Linked DNA regions of Homo sapiens: region 2 is linked to region 1. The links are contacts of gene promoters, found by promoter capture Hi-C in human tissues and cell types (Jung and others, 2019). All regions are on one chromosome and are shown on one strand. The core of a region is centred on a gene start or on the middle of the fragment in contact, and the rest is flanking DNA. Distances in the headings are between cores, read along the strand shown. Region 1 holds the start of PKMYT1 (protein kinase, membrane associated tyrosine/threonine 1). Region 2 holds the start of C16orf90 (chromosome 16 open reading frame 90).

Region 1 (7,329 bases), core at 4,108-6,607:
TGGAGCTGTGAGGAGGCAGGTTACACAAAGTGGCTCTGGAGGGTTCGAGGCTCACAGGCAGCCTGACCAGAGACGCTCTCCACTGGAGGGCAGGGATGGCGTCTCAGCCTTGTGGCTCTGAGGCCGGGTGTCCTGGGCTAGGGTGGAGCTTCCCTCCTGGGGAATGGAGCTTCCGTCCCAGGAAGGGCCTCCCACAGCCTGCCAAACACCTGGCGTGCCCCGGTCCCCACCTGAACACATCCGCTGCTGTCCCATAGGAGCCCTGCAGCAGCTCGGGGGCCATGTAGCGGGGGTCTCCCTCCTGGACCTCACCAGCTCCTGCTGTACCCAGCTCCACCAGCAGTCCGAAGTCACCCAGCTTGCAGCGGCCCCGGGGCCCCAGGAAGATGTTGGCAGGCTTGACATCAAGGTGCACCAGGCCCTGGCTGTGCAGATGGGCCAGGGCAAGCAGCGTGTCCCGCAGGTAGCCCCAGACCTGGGCCTCAGGCAGGCTGGCACCCCAGGCCTCACAGTGTTGCTGCAGGCTGGGCCCGCACAGCTCCGTCTGCAGGTACAGGATGCCGCCCTCCTCCCAGGCCTGCTCCAGCCGCACGCAGCATGGGTGCTGCCCCACCTTCTCGTGGCTGCCCACCTCGGCCAACTTGCGGGCCCGGTCCTTGGGGCCCCGGAATGGTGACATGGAACGCTTTACCGCATAGAGCCGGCCGTCCTCCTTGGAGCGCACCTGGAAGGGAGGTGGTACCCACGCACACAGTGAGGGTGAGCCACAAGTGGCACAATCACATAGGGGGACAACCTGGCAGACCCCATTAAGGGTTCACACACGGGGCACGGTGGTGTAGCTGGCATCTGTCTCAGACCCCTGCCCAGGGTAATAACAAAACCAGACAAACCTCCATCCCTCGGGCTGGGTCTGTGGAGACCCAGCGACGGAGGAGCCAGGGCCGACCTGCACTGACCCCAGGGGACCTCTTGGATGTGTCACGAGGTGGAAAAAGCAGCTGCAGAGCAACACAGGCAGCCCAGGCTGTGGTGTGAAAAGTGGGCTCCCCTGTGAGAAAGCTGACCTGGGGGCCAATGTTGTTTGTACTTTTTAACAAAATTGTCTTCATACAGGACTCATACAAGGGAAAACTCCTCTCTAAAAGAAAATATAAATGACTGGAAACTGTGTTTAAGAAAAGCAAGATGGCAGGCAGGGGGTAGCTCAAAGCCTGCCAGCCTGGGGAGGGCTGGCCAGGCACTGCACTCAGGGCCAGTGCCAGAGGCTGGGCCGACTCGCCAAGGACGCTGCACAGCTGGCGCCAGGGCCGGAGGAGATGGCACAGGGGCTGCTGCAGGGCGTGCCAGACTCTGGACAAGGGGCCAGTATGCACAGAGCAACCCCTGGAGGGGCCTGCATTGGGGATGATGGGAGCAGCCAAGTCAAATGTGGAGGGAGCCTGTGAGCCCAGCAGGGACAGGCTGTAGGGAACGGAAGGGGATCAGGCTGCCCAGGACACTGTCCTGCCAAGGGAGGTGCAGAAACACAAAGGAGGTCCCCCAGATGGGCCTAGAAGCCGTCCCCTCACTCACCTTGAAGACCTCTCCGTAGGAGCCATGGCCCAGGCGGCTGAGCCTCTGGAAGCTCTGCTGGAAGAAGGACTCTGGCCGGCTTGGGTCATACCCAGGGCTCTGCAGAGTCTCTGAGGCCTCGCCCCGGAATGACACCCGCCGGGGCTGCAGCTGGTGCCAGCCTGGGGTCCGAGGAGGGAAGAGGCGGCTGATGGGAATGCTGCCCTTGGCAGGGGGCGGAGGTGGGAGGCTCCGGCTGAGCCCCCTGGGCCTCTTGAGGGAGAATCCAGGTTCTGCGTGGCGGAAGTAGGCTGGGACTGGGATGGGGGTGCCACTCAGAGGTGGCGGGGTGCCCTCCGTGGGCATGGGCATGGCCAGTGCAGGAGGCCCTGGGGGCAGAGACAGAGGCTGAGTACAGGGCAGCATGTCCACTCTGATACCACCTGGCCCTGTGGCTCCAAAGAGGCCACAGAAGAGAGCTATGTCTATACCACACACTTATTCTACTTTAAACGGCAATGGGAGCAATAAGCACCTACCAAGAAAAGGCAGAGGACAGATTCATACTCACCTGCCCACCAGGCTGTTGTATTTTAGAGATGATAGAAACATAAGAGGAAAACCATGGGGCCCGTGTTCTTGAGGGTCTTGCAGTCGGGTTAAGAGCAAGGCAGTTTGGAGTCAGACGGGCTGCGCCTGCATCCCTGCCCTCATCACGGCCAGCTCTTTGATCCTAAACTACACAACCTCTTCCGAGACTACACGGGCCCACGATCCCTTATCTCCAATTCCAAAGTGAAAACCCGGAATCCCTCAAGTGTCTTTCTTTTTCATAACTGTCGTGCCAAAACCCAGTTAGTGGTGTCCACTTCCAGAATGGCAGTGTGTGCAGCTCCGTGGACCCCTGCCCCAGTGAAACAGCACAACTGATGACGATTATTCAAAAGCAAGCACTGAAAGCCTCTGGGCATGGTGCCCAGGGCACACAGCAAACAAAGGTTTACACAAGAAAACCTGCCAAGGCCTGGGAATAATGGCAAGCCTGTTGGCACCTGAGCCATGACACTCCTGCCCTCCCACCTCCAGCACCCCTCTCCCCCCGCCTAGCACTGGGGGCAGGTGTGGCCAAGAAGAAGGGCTCCCTCTCCCCCAGCTCCCCGTCAAGGGTTAGGGTGTTTGCCCAGGAGGGCCAGGTTCTCAGCACTTCTCAACCCTCCCAGCTCCACATGGCAGAGGCTAAATTCCAGCTGAGTGTGGCAGACAGGCCAGGGGCTCCTTTCTTCCACCTGCCCCCAAGCATAGAATAGAGGCTATATCTCAGGCCCGGCAGGCTGGGAACATGGAGCCCCAGCTCATTTGTAGGAAGGAGGCTCCACACTGGGAGAGGGCAACCAAGAAGGCCAGAGGCTCCTGCCCAACCCAGCGACCTGCTCCTAAAGCAATAGCAGCACTCAGAGAGGTGCCCCGCTGTCCTGCCCCCAGTTCCACAGCATGGCTCAGACAGAGATTTAGCCTAGGGGTAGACGTAGGTCATAAATAGAGCTCTCCCCACCCACCAACCCCCTGAAAATTGGCTTGATTTGAAACAGTGCGTAGGGAAGTTCAAGTTTAAAGGGGCTGTCAAAATCAGTGGAAGTTTTGGTGGTGCGCCATTAAGAAGAGACTGGTACCCGCATTAGGGCAACCAGCTGAACCATAGGCCAGCTAGTTTACCACAGAGAAGTGGAGAAAGAGCTAGCTAGGAAGAGCCTGCCTGCTGTCAGAACAAACCTCACTGACCTCAAAAGCCACCCTGTCAAAGGAGCTCAAAATTAATTGGATCTGGCCAGGCACAGTGGCTCATGCCTGTAATCCCAGCATTTTAGGAGGCTGAGGTGAGTAAATCACCTGAGGTGAGGAGTTCGAGTCCAGCCTGGCCAACATGGTGAAACCCCATCTCTACTAAAAATACAAAAATTAGCTGGGTGTGGTGGTGCATGCCTGTAGTCCCAGCTACTCGGGAGGCTGAGGCAGGGGAATTGCTTGAACCTGGGAGGCAGAGATTACAGTGAGCCAAGATCATGCCACTGCACTCCAGCCTGGGCAACAGAGCGAGACTCTGTCTCAAAAAAAAAAAAAAATTTAATTGGATTGGACCGTGGAACACTTTATGCCCCAAGGTATTGTTTGTTTGTTTGTTTTTGAGACAGGGTCTCACTCTGTTGCCCAGGCTGGAGTGCAGTGGTATGATCTCGGCCCACTGCAGCCTCCGACTCCCAGGTTCAAGTAATTCTCTTGCCTCAGCCTCCTGAGTAGCTGGGATTACAGGCGTGTGCCAACACACTAGAATAATTTTTATATTTTTAGTAGAGATGTGGTTTCACCATGTTGGTGAGGCTGGTGCACCAAAGTATTATAAAAAACAATAGAGCGGCTGGGTGTGGTGGCTCACGCCTGTAATCCCAGCACTTCGGGAGGCAAGGTGGGTGGATCACTTGAGGTCAAGACTTCGAGACCAGCCTGGCCTACATGGTGAAACCCCATCTCTACTAAAGATACAAATTTTTGCCGGGCGTGCTGGTGCATGCCTGTAGTCCCAGCTACTCAGAGGCTGAGGCAGGAGAAATGCTTGAACCCAGGAGGTGGAAGTTGCGGTGAGCCGAGATTGCGGCATTGCACTCCAACTGGGCGACAAGAGCAAAACTCCATCTCAAAAAAATATACATAATAGTAAATAAAAAATTAAAAAGAGCAGTCTCCAGTACCTGAGGGAGTACAGGGGTGAGGGGAGCGATGCTACCTGGGCCTGGCTGGCAGGCTGCCCTCCATCTTGTGGAGACTCTTCCTCTGACTCTAACTACCTCAGAGTCCCAGCCCAGGGTTTCTCCAAGTCAGGAGCCAGGGTGTTGGGATCCTGGAGGTCACTGGTCACAAGCACAGCCTCCAGGCCCAACCCTGGCACACTCGGGGACCTGGGCCTGTGCATCTTAACCCAGTTCTCCCACCGTCCCTGCCCTACGACTTACGTTCTAGCATGACTGGCCTGGCCCAACAGCCTCAGTGGTGGGACGGGGGAGGCAGGAGCAGGGGCTCCCACGTGAATCCAGGGTGTCCCTGAGCTAAGGCCAGGCGGGGGTGACCTCCGCAGCTTCCGGGGCCCTGGGCGATCGGGCCGTCTCGCCTCACCCTCTCACCAGGCCCGACACATCTGCTGGCCACCTTTCCCGGTAGACGGTAAGTTCCTCCCAGGCAGGGCCGCGGCTGACTTCACTCCGTGGGTGTGGGGAAGCCCTGGCGAACAGAGCAGTGGACGGGCTGTCACGAGGGAAGAGGGGCTGTTGCAGAAGAAGAGAGGCTGTCCCGGGGCAGGGGCTGTCACGGAGGAAGGACTGTCACGGGGAGGGCGGCGGCGCGGGGTTGATGGACAGCAGGCGGGGTCTCCGGGAGGGGCGAGTAGGGCGGGACCGCCGCTGGGAAGGGGCTCGAGGCAAGGGAACCAGGAATTGGGGAGGACGGGAGGCAGGGGCTCGCGGGGGCGGGCCTGAGGGGACGCGAGCGGGCCGCCGGGGAGGCCTGAGGGGCAGGGGTAACGCAGACCTGGCGAGGCGGAGGGGAGCGGCGAGGTGGCCACGCCGAGGCCCCTCACGGCGGGGTCTGGGCTCACCTGGGGCGACTGGGCGGGGCGCGGGTCCGCGAGGGCCCAGATTCCGGGTCCGCGGAGGCCACGGGACCCCTCGGGTGGCTCAGCGGGCCGGAGTCTGCCGTCGACTGTTCCGGACGCCCGGGCGGAGGACTCCCGTGAGGGGGAACGGCCCGTGAACGCGCGCGGAGCTGCTCGCGCCAAAAATTCCAAACCGGCCTCGAGGCTCCTCCCCCTCCCCAGTGCAGCCCGTCAGGGGTGCCCGGGCTCCGAGGCTCCGCCCCTCGTGCTGCGTGCGCGCCGCCGAGCCGCCCCGCCGCTCACTGCGCAGGCGCACAGGATTCTCCGCGCTGGCCCGGGGCGTGGGTGGCGGCCTGGTTCTGAGTCGCTGCGCGGGGCTTCAGCCGCCCAGTCCCTGGGACGCCCACTGCCCTCCAGGCCTCGCACCCGACACCCACCGCCCTCGCTGGGCTGGCGTAGTGTTTGGGTCCATAAAAGGGACCGCCATCCCGGTGCTCGGAGCAGGCGTAGCCCCAGGGTTACTCCGGGTAGGACCAGGAAGTCCCTACGGCCTCCTGGGTCCCGGCACCCCCCTTCTCACTCCGGCCGTGTTCTGAACCAGGGTCGCGGTGGGAGGCCAGACGCACGACCCCCAACCCCTAGCGCACGGCTTCGGGAGCCAGAAAAAGCCGCCTCTTCCAGGAAGCTCTCCAGATAGGCAGGACTCTGCTTGGCCTGACCTCGCCTGCCTGCAGCTTCCCTGCCAACAGGCCTCAGATACTTTTTTTTTTTTTTTTAGACAGGGTCTCACTGTCACCAAGGCTGGAATGCAGTGGTGCAGTCCCCAGGTTCAGGCGGTTCTCCCAACCTCAGCCTGCCGAGTATGTGAGATCACAGGCGCGCGCCACCGCACTCGGCTCATGTATTTTATTTTTAGACAGGGTCTCATTCTGTTGTCCAGGCTGGAGTGCAGTGGGGCGATCTCGACTCACTGTAACTTCCGCCTCCCCCGCTCAAGCGTTCCTCCCACCTCAGCCTCCTGAGTAGCTGGGACCACAGGCGCGCGCCACCACACCCAACTAATTTTTGCATTTTTTTGTAGAGACGGTGTTTTACCATGTTGGCCAAGCTAGTGTCGAACTTCTGACCTCAAGCGATCCGCCCGCCTCGGCCTCCCAGAAGGCTGGGATTACAGGCGTGAGCCACCGCGATTGGCCGCAGGATCATAGTTCACTGCAGCCTCGAGCAGCCACTTCCGGGGCAGCTCCTCCATTCTCTGAGTTTGAGACTTGCTCTCAGCTCAGATCCCTTCAGCGCTCTCCTGGCTGAACGACCTTGGGAATGCACTGAGCCTTTCTGAGCTTCGGATTAGTCTCCTCTCCTGGAAAAAAAAAAACAGCTGAGGACGCTGGGATGATCCCCTAAAGTGATTAGCAGGGGCCCTCGCGGAGCAAGTCGGGCTAGGGATTGTTCCTTCCCTCACCGAGGGGCTCTTTATCTGTTTAACTGGGTGGGAGGAGTACGCTTCCGGCCAACCCTCCCCCAAACGCTGGCCTTCTCACTCTCACCTCTCCTTCCGCCTTATTTTTGCTATTGCCCTGATCTCTGTCCGATGTTCTATCTTTTGTTTGTGAGTTTACTTGTTGACTACCTGCTCCTTCTAGCCCTGGCCTCCAGAACCAGTCCCCCAAACCCTCCATCCTCCCCAAGTCTCTGACAGGTCATGGACTGCAAAGCTTCCCACCCATTCAGTTCCTGCACCCTCTGTAAACGTTCTGTGCATGGAGCAGCAGTGTGGGGGAGGAGAGGCTGGGATCCTGGCTGGGGGCGGCAGCCCACCTGCCTGCACCTTTCCTTGTCCTTCGCATCTCTGGCGGCTGTGCCCCAGTGACTCAGGCAGGATCCTTGTTGATGACTCCAGACTGGCCCCCAGGAGGCCTGGGGCACACACAGGCCCCTCCCCAGCTGCCTAGGGCTACCTCTGCCAGCCCCATCTCCCCAACAGGTCCCCTTCCAACCGCCCATTTTTTAAAGTCTGATTCACAATGATAATTAAAAAAAAAAAAAAAAAAGCATGGAAACACATGCTTCCGATGTAAATTTCACTGTGTGAGGAAAGGCTGTAATATAAATATATGTAAATGGAAATAAGTAGA
Region 2 (7,075 bases), core at 3,114-5,613, 520 kb after region 1:
CCACACCTGCCCCATCACAGCTGCTCTTGGGTGCAGCATGTAAACACCTGCTCTCTCAGAGCTCCCCCTCCTGGGGACCGCTACAGCCTTGGGTGTCCCCCACCCCGGGCCATGCCTGCATACTTAGAACAACCCATAAAACCACCCAAGGACTGAAGTCTCCAGGATCTGCTGTCCCAGGGACACAAGAACTGTCCAGGGTGGGTACAGGAGAAGGGAAGGAGCCTGGCTGTCCTGGGCACGTCACATGCGACCTGGCAGGAGCCCAAAGCAGGGGTGGCGCTGAGCCCTAGCCTGACCCGGGCTGCACCGGCTGGAGTGACCAGACGGGAAGGTCACTGAGGCAAACCCAGGTGCTCCCGTCTTCTTCCCATAGGATGGAGACCTGGTGGAATAGAACAAGTGTGTTAGTCCGTCTTGACACTGCTTCCTGAGACTGGGTTATTTATAAACAAAAGAGGTTTAATTGATTCAGCGTTCCAGGTGTCTGGGAGGCCTCAGGAAACTTACAATCACCATGGAAGGCAAAGGGGAAGCAGGCACCTTCTTGGCAAGGCGGCAGGACAGAGAGAGAGAGAGGCGGTGGTGGGGAGGAAGGGTGGAACTGCCAAACACATTTTATTATTTTTTTCTTTTTTTGAGACAAGAGTCTCACTCTATCACCCAGGCTGGAGTGCAGTGGCACAATCTCGGCTCACTGCAAGCTCTGCCTCCCGGGTTCATGCCATTCTCCTGCCTCAGCCTCCTGAGTAGCTGGGACTACAGGCAGCTGCCACCATGCCCGGCTAATTTTTGTATTTTTAGTACAGACAGTGTTTCACCGTGTTAGCCAGGATGGTCTTGATCTCCTGACCTTGTGATCCGCCCGCCTCAGCCTCCCAAAGTGTTGGCATTACAGGCGTGAGCCACTGCACCTGGCCCACCGCCAAACACTTTTAAACCATCAGATCTTGTGATAACTCACTATCATGAGAGCAGCATGGCGGAACCCCCCACCCCCCACCCCATGATCCAATCACCTCCCATGAGAACCCTCCCTCAACACATGGGGATTACAATTGGAGATGAAATTTGGGTGGGGACACAGCCTAACTGTATCAGCAGGCTTCTCATCCACAGTAACAGTGCTCCCGAGGGACACCGGACAATGTCTGGAGACACTTGCTGTCACAGCTTAGAGGAGGGTGCTACAGATACCAAGTGGGTGGTGGCCAGAGATGCTGCTTAACATCCTACATGCACAGGACAGCCTCCATCCCAAAGAAAGATCCCATCCCAAACATCAACAGAGTCGAGTGGAGACACCCCGGCACAGAGGAAGCCCACACCTGGGTGCGCAGAGTCTGGTCCGGCTGGGAGGAGAAGGGCTGTGCTCATCCTGCCCAGAGGGACCTGGGAGCTGGGGTCCCGCGGAGCAGTGACCTCACCTGGTAGGGGGCAGGTGGGGCCGAGGTCCACATCCCTGCCTCTGCTGCTGTCCTCCCTGGTGCCCTCCCTGACCCCGCCCTGCCTTCCTTCATCCGCTGCGCCCTCCACCCACAATGCCATGGCCTGCATTTAGGATCCTCCTGAGGCAGGAGGATCACTTGAGCTCAGGAGTTTGAGACCAGCCTGGGCAACAGCAGGACCCCCTCCCCCCAACTCTTAAAACAACAGAAAATTAGGCCGGGCACGGCGGCTCACGCCTGTAATCCCAGCACTTTGGGAGGCTGAGGTCAGGAGATGGAGATCATCTTGGCTAACACGGTGAAACCCCGTCTCTACTAAAAAAATACAAATAAATTAGCCGGGCGCGGTGGCGGGCGCCTATAGTCCCAGCTACTCGGGAGGCTGAGGCAGGAGAATGGCGTGAACCTGGGAGTTGGAGCTTGAAGTGAGCCGAGATTGCACCACTGCACTCCAGCCTGGGCCACAGAGCAAGACTCCGTCTCAAAAAAAAAAAAAAAAAAAAGACAGTCTGTAACTCAGCCACAGACAGCCGTAGCCAGGATCTCACCCCTGAGAAGGACATCTGCTGCAGCCACATGCTGGCCCCAAAGAAAACTGGCTCTAAATTGGCCTCTAGACAGTTCTAGACTGCATCTCAAAAAAAAAAAGAAAAGAAAATTAGCCAGGCATGGTGGCTGAAAAGGTGGGCTGTTGAGCCCCTACCCACCCTATGGAGCCAAGCTCAGCAGTGTCTCATCCAGGAAGCTCTCACAGACAAGTATGGTGTTCCCACAGGCCCTTGCCCTAGCTCACGCCTCTCATGCCCTGGCAACTAAGAGTGGGGGCGCGGCAGACCCATCCCTGGAGAGACACAGGACTGTTTTTCTCACCAAACTGGCCTGATGACAGACAGGCAGATGGACAAGAACGTGCAGGCCTTGGCTTTTATTGAGATCAGAGCTGTGGGCTCCCCGGCCTCTCAGGGAGGCGGTGGCGGGGGGGCCTGATTCTGCACTCAGCCCGGCCTCCCAGGTACAAGTGGCTGACTGGAGTCTAAGCAGGCTGCAAGGGCACGGCCATGCTTCTATTGCTTCTGCCCCTCCCTCGGAACCTCCTCCTCCTCCCTCTCCCCATCACATTCTCCCGAGGCCCAGGCCTGGGCGCTGGGCCGCTGCCTGGGCCACCCCATGTGGCAGGGCCACTGCCGGGGGCCGAGCCCCTCCTGCTCAGGCTGCCTCCTCGGCCATCCTGCCCCTCCTGTACCCAGTCCTGGCACTCGGGATCCCTATGGCCTCTCCAGGGCCCCAGAGCGGGTTCTCTTGCACAAGGGACACATGGCCTCTTCCCAGGTCCCCCAGGACCTCTTGGGCCTGAGCCTAGAAGGACTAGGCTGGGGGAGGGCACCCTTGTCTGGGTCCATGCTGGAACTGGAAGCTGAGGAAAGAGGAGAGAAAGGAGTCACTTGAGGGACCCAAGGGGAGGCTGGGGGGGAGGCTGGCAGCCCACCCTGGGGTTTCCAGAATCCGATATTCTTGAAAACAGAAGGGAGGAGGGCAATGCTTCCTCCTTAACAGAATCCCCAGGGGAGGGAGGAGGTTGAGGGAACAGAATGGTTCAAGCTGGAAGGACCCTCATCTAACCTGAACCCTCATTTTACAAGTGAGAAAACTGAGGCCCAGCAAGGGAGACAGATTCCAAGGCCCCTCACCGAGTGTGGAGCTGGGGCAGTCACCCAGCCCTCCCTCCCAGATCCTCCCTTTTTCTCGCACCGCTTTGTCCCTGGTGGATTCTCCAGACCCCGCTTAGCTGTGCGTGATGCAGAGATGGGGACAGATTCATCAAGATCTTGGCCTTCTGGGGCATGGTGCCACTGTGGAGGCTTGGGAGTGGAGAAGGGCCCGCCTGAGGCCCCAGCCCAACCATCCCCTAGGGTCTTCCCCCGTGCCCAGTCCTGCCTTGACAGAGCTCACCACTGCTTCCCAGGCTGTCCCTGGGCAATCGGGCTTCCAGAAGGGCTGAACAGAGGCTGTTACGTGGGCCCAGAGTCCCCTGTGGCAGGTCCAGGGCCCAGGCTGTGCCCTCAGGCTGTGGCAGGCAGCCCCCAGCCATAAGCCGGCCCAGCCAGTGGCTCTCACACTGGCCAGTGGGTGGCGGGTGGCTCTCCAGGTAGAGGCCCAGGCCCCGGAGGTGGCGCAGCCGGAAGTTCTTGGGCTTGCTTCCCTGGGCACTGGGGCACTGCGGCTGCGGGGACCCCAGGCCCCCCTCGTAGATGTTGGGGGGTGCGTCAGGGTGGCCGGGGCGTCCTTGGGCCTGGCTCACTGCATCTGCAGAGGAGACAGCGGGAGGGTGGTGGCCAGCCCCCCACAGCAGCCATGAGGGGAGGGTGCAGTCACATACCTCTGAGACCAGCTCACATGATGGGCTACACCCCCAGCCAACCTGGCCTCAGTTTACCTGTGTGTCAAATAGTCTCAGTCCACTGCCTCCCCTGCCCATGCCCAAGACACGACTCCTCTTCCCACTCCCAACCAACAGGGAGGCCTGGGAAGCCTCGGGCCTTGGTACTAAGAGTGCTTTCAGGACCTCAAGTCCTTTCTACTACCCTGTTCTGCCCGCTACCCTAGGAAGAGTATTCTGGTCCCCACAGAGAAATTGCACAGTGGGTTTGAGAGAAAGTGGCCAGCCCAGGGGCTCATGGCCTGGCCCAGTGGCCATTCCCCTCTCCCAAGCATACATGTCCCTGAGGCCACCCCTCGGCTTTGGGCCCAGGTGGGGACAGAAGCCTATCTCTCTTCCTGCCACTCCTCCCCACAGCCCGGCACCTTCTCTTATGTGCAGCTCAGAAAATGCACAGACCAAGGCTTCCATGGAGGGCCAGTGTGGTGGGGAGGAGCAACCAGGACTTGGGTGCAGCAGGGCCCTGCTCTCCCCTGCCTAGGGGGTACATTGGCAGGTCTCCCCTGGCAACTGGTTCTTATGACATCACGGGGAAGACTCCCAGCCTTCCTGGACCCCTAGTTTGGGAGAGGACAGTGCCCAAGGCAAGGGCAGGGTGAAAGAAAGGCATGGGAAGGGGCCAGAACCCTGGGGGAAGTCCCTGGTCCCTCTGGCTGGGGTCAGGCCACATAAAACAGACAGCTCTGGCAAACTGGAGAGTCCTTCTCTCAGGTGATCTCTTGGGGCCAGCTTCCTCATCTGGGGTGGGAAATGAGGGTTCAGGAGTACAGACCTAGGAAGACCTAGGTCGGTACTTTGAAAATGCTGAAAAGGGGCTGGGGGCGGTGGCTCATGCCTGTAATCCCAGCACTGTGGGAGGCCGAGGCAGGCTGATCAGTTGAGGTCTGTGGGAGGCCGGGGTGGGCGGATCATGAGGTCAGGAGATCGAGACCATCCTGGCTAACACGGTGAAACCCCGTCTCTACTAAAAATACAAAAAAATTAGCCGGGCGTCGTGGCGGGAGCCTGTAGTCCCAGTTACTCAGGAGGCTGAGGCAGGAGAATGGCGTGAACCCGGGAGGCGAAGCTTGCAGTGAGCCCAGATCGCGCCACTGCACTCCAGCCTGGGCTGCAGAGCGAGACTCCGTCTCAAAAAAAAAAAAAAGTTAAACATTCATCTTTCCGGACCTGGCCAAGCAGGAAGCGCCATCATGGGAGCTGACGTCCGCCACAAGAAGGACCTAAAGGTTCGGCGCAAAGAGCCCAAGAGCCAGGATATCTAACTGAGGCTGTTTGTTGGTCAAGCTGTACAGGTTACCGTCCAGACGAACTAACTCCACATTCAACCAGGTTGTGCTGAAGAGGTTGTTTATGAGTCGCACCAACCGGCCACCTCTGTCCGTTTCCCGGATGATCCGGAAGATGAAGCTTCCTGGCTGGGAAAACAAAACGGCCGTGGTTGTGGGGACGCTTAACGGATGACGCGAGGGTTCAGGAGGTGCCCAAACTTAAGGTGTGTGCGCTGCCCGTGACCAGCCGGCCCACAGCGGCATCCTCAGGGTGGGGGCCAAGATCCTGACTTTCGATCAGCTGGCCCTGGACTCCCTCAAGGACGGCGGCCCCGTCCTACTCTCCGGTCTTCGCAAGGGCCGACAGGTGTACCGGCATTTCGGCAAGGCCCTGGGAACCCCACACAGCCACACCAAACGCTATTTCCGCTCCAGGGACCAGAAGTTCGAGCGCGCCAGAGGCCTACGGGCCAGCCGAGGCTACAAAAACGAACCCTCTTATTAAAAAGATTTTGGATGCTGACAAAAAAACAAAAAGTTAAAACATTCAATTTTCTCTTGTCACAGACGACCTGATTTTTCTTTTTTTCTTTTCTTTTTTTTTTTTTTTAAGATGGAGTCTCACTTTGGCGCCCAGGCTGGAGTGCAGTGGCGCGATCTCGGTTCACTGCAACCTCCGCCTCCCGAGTTCAAGAGCTTCTCCTGCCTCGGCCTCCCCAGCAGGTGGGATTACAGGCACCCACCACCACGCCCAACGGATCTTTGTATTTTTAGTAGAGACAGGCTTTCGCCATGTTGGCCAGGCTGGTCTCAAACTCCTGACGTCAGGTGATCCGCCCACCTCGGCCTCCCAAAGTGCTGGGATTACAGGCATGACCCACCGCGCCCAGCAACCTGATCTTGTATGTAGGAAATATTAAATAATTCATACTTGAAAAAAAAAAATCCTGAACCTAGTAGAGCTTTTTCAGAGCTAATGAAGTTCAGAAAAATCTCAAGTCATAAAATCACCACACAAAAATTAATTGTATTTCTAGATACTAGCAAAGAATAAAAAGAATAAAATAGGAATACATTTAACCAAGGAGGTATAAGACAACTCTGAATACTATAAAACATTGCTGAGAGAATCTAAAGACTTAAATAAATTGGAAAGCATCACATGTTCATGGACTGAAGACTTAATATTGTTAAGATAGCAACACTCCCCAAAGTGCTCAGTACAATTCTTATCAAAATCAAAATGGCCTTCATGTAGTGTATTAGGCTTCTCCAGAGAAATATAGTCAGCAGAATGTATATAGATATTTACAGAGAAAATATTTATTAGAGGATAAATAAATCTCCTTATATAATTTTTTCTGAGATAGGGCCTTGCTCCATTGCCCAGGCTGAAGTACAGTGACATGATCACGGCTCACTGCAACCTCAACTTACCAGGCTCAGGCAATCCTCCCACCTTAGCCTCCCAAGTAGCTGGGACTACAGGTGTGCACCACCAGGCCTGGCTAATTTTTTAATTTATTTTCATTTTTTAATTTTTAATTTTTTAAATTTTTGCTGATGGAGATCTCACCATGTTGCCCAGAGCTAGTCTTGAACTCCTGGGCTCAAGTGATCCTCCTGCCTCCACCTCCCAAAGTGCTGGGGTGATAGGTGTGAGCCGCCGTGCCCAGCCAAGAGAAGATTTATTAGGGATATTGGCTTATGTGATTATCCGGGCTGAGAAGTCGCACAATATGCTGCCTGCAAGCTGGAGAACCAGGAAAACTGGTGCTGTAATTAAGTCTGGGTTCAAAAGCATGAGAATCTGGGTAGGGGTGGGGGTGAGGGCTGGTGTAAGTCCTGGTGTCCAGAAGTCCAAGAACCAGGAGCTCCAATGTCCAAGGGCACGGGAAGAAGGATGTCCCAGCCCATGAAGA

What was found. The method cuts DNA at HindIII sites, captures the fragments that hold promoters and counts their contacts. A contact is called where the count stands out against the background at its distance.
Region 2: the fragment with the promoter of C16orf90 here is called in contact with the fragment with the promoter of PKMYT1 in region 1 in 1 of the 25 tissues and cell types used here (spleen).

The regions. Positions count from the first base shown.
Region 1 is chr16:2,975,089-2,982,417 of GRCh38, forward strand. It overlaps PKMYT1 (protein kinase, membrane associated tyrosine/threonine 1), which reads right to left and starts at 5,358. Exons shown (of 9, transcript NM_004203.5): 1 at 5,198-5,358; 2 at 4,560-4,824; 3 at 1,576-1,943; 4 at 231-724. The coding sequence starts at 4,569. RefSeq lists enhancers at 4,048-4,924, 4,925-5,800, 5,801-6,677 and silencers at 5,092-5,321, 5,332-5,691. The HindIII fragment of the contact is 14,611 bases long and covers 2,314-7,329 here.
Region 2 is chr16:3,491,126-3,498,200 of GRCh38, forward strand. It overlaps C16orf90 (chromosome 16 open reading frame 90), which reads right to left and starts at 4,364. Exons shown (of 3, transcript NM_001080524.2): 1 at 4,251-4,364; 2 at 3,399-3,752; 3 at 2,359-2,862. The coding sequence starts at 4,296. The coding sequence ends at 2,714. It also overlaps a transcript of CLUAP1 not described here and the pseudogene RPL18P12. RefSeq lists a silencer at 1,923-2,132. The HindIII fragment of the contact is 9,668 bases long and covers 1-5,121 here.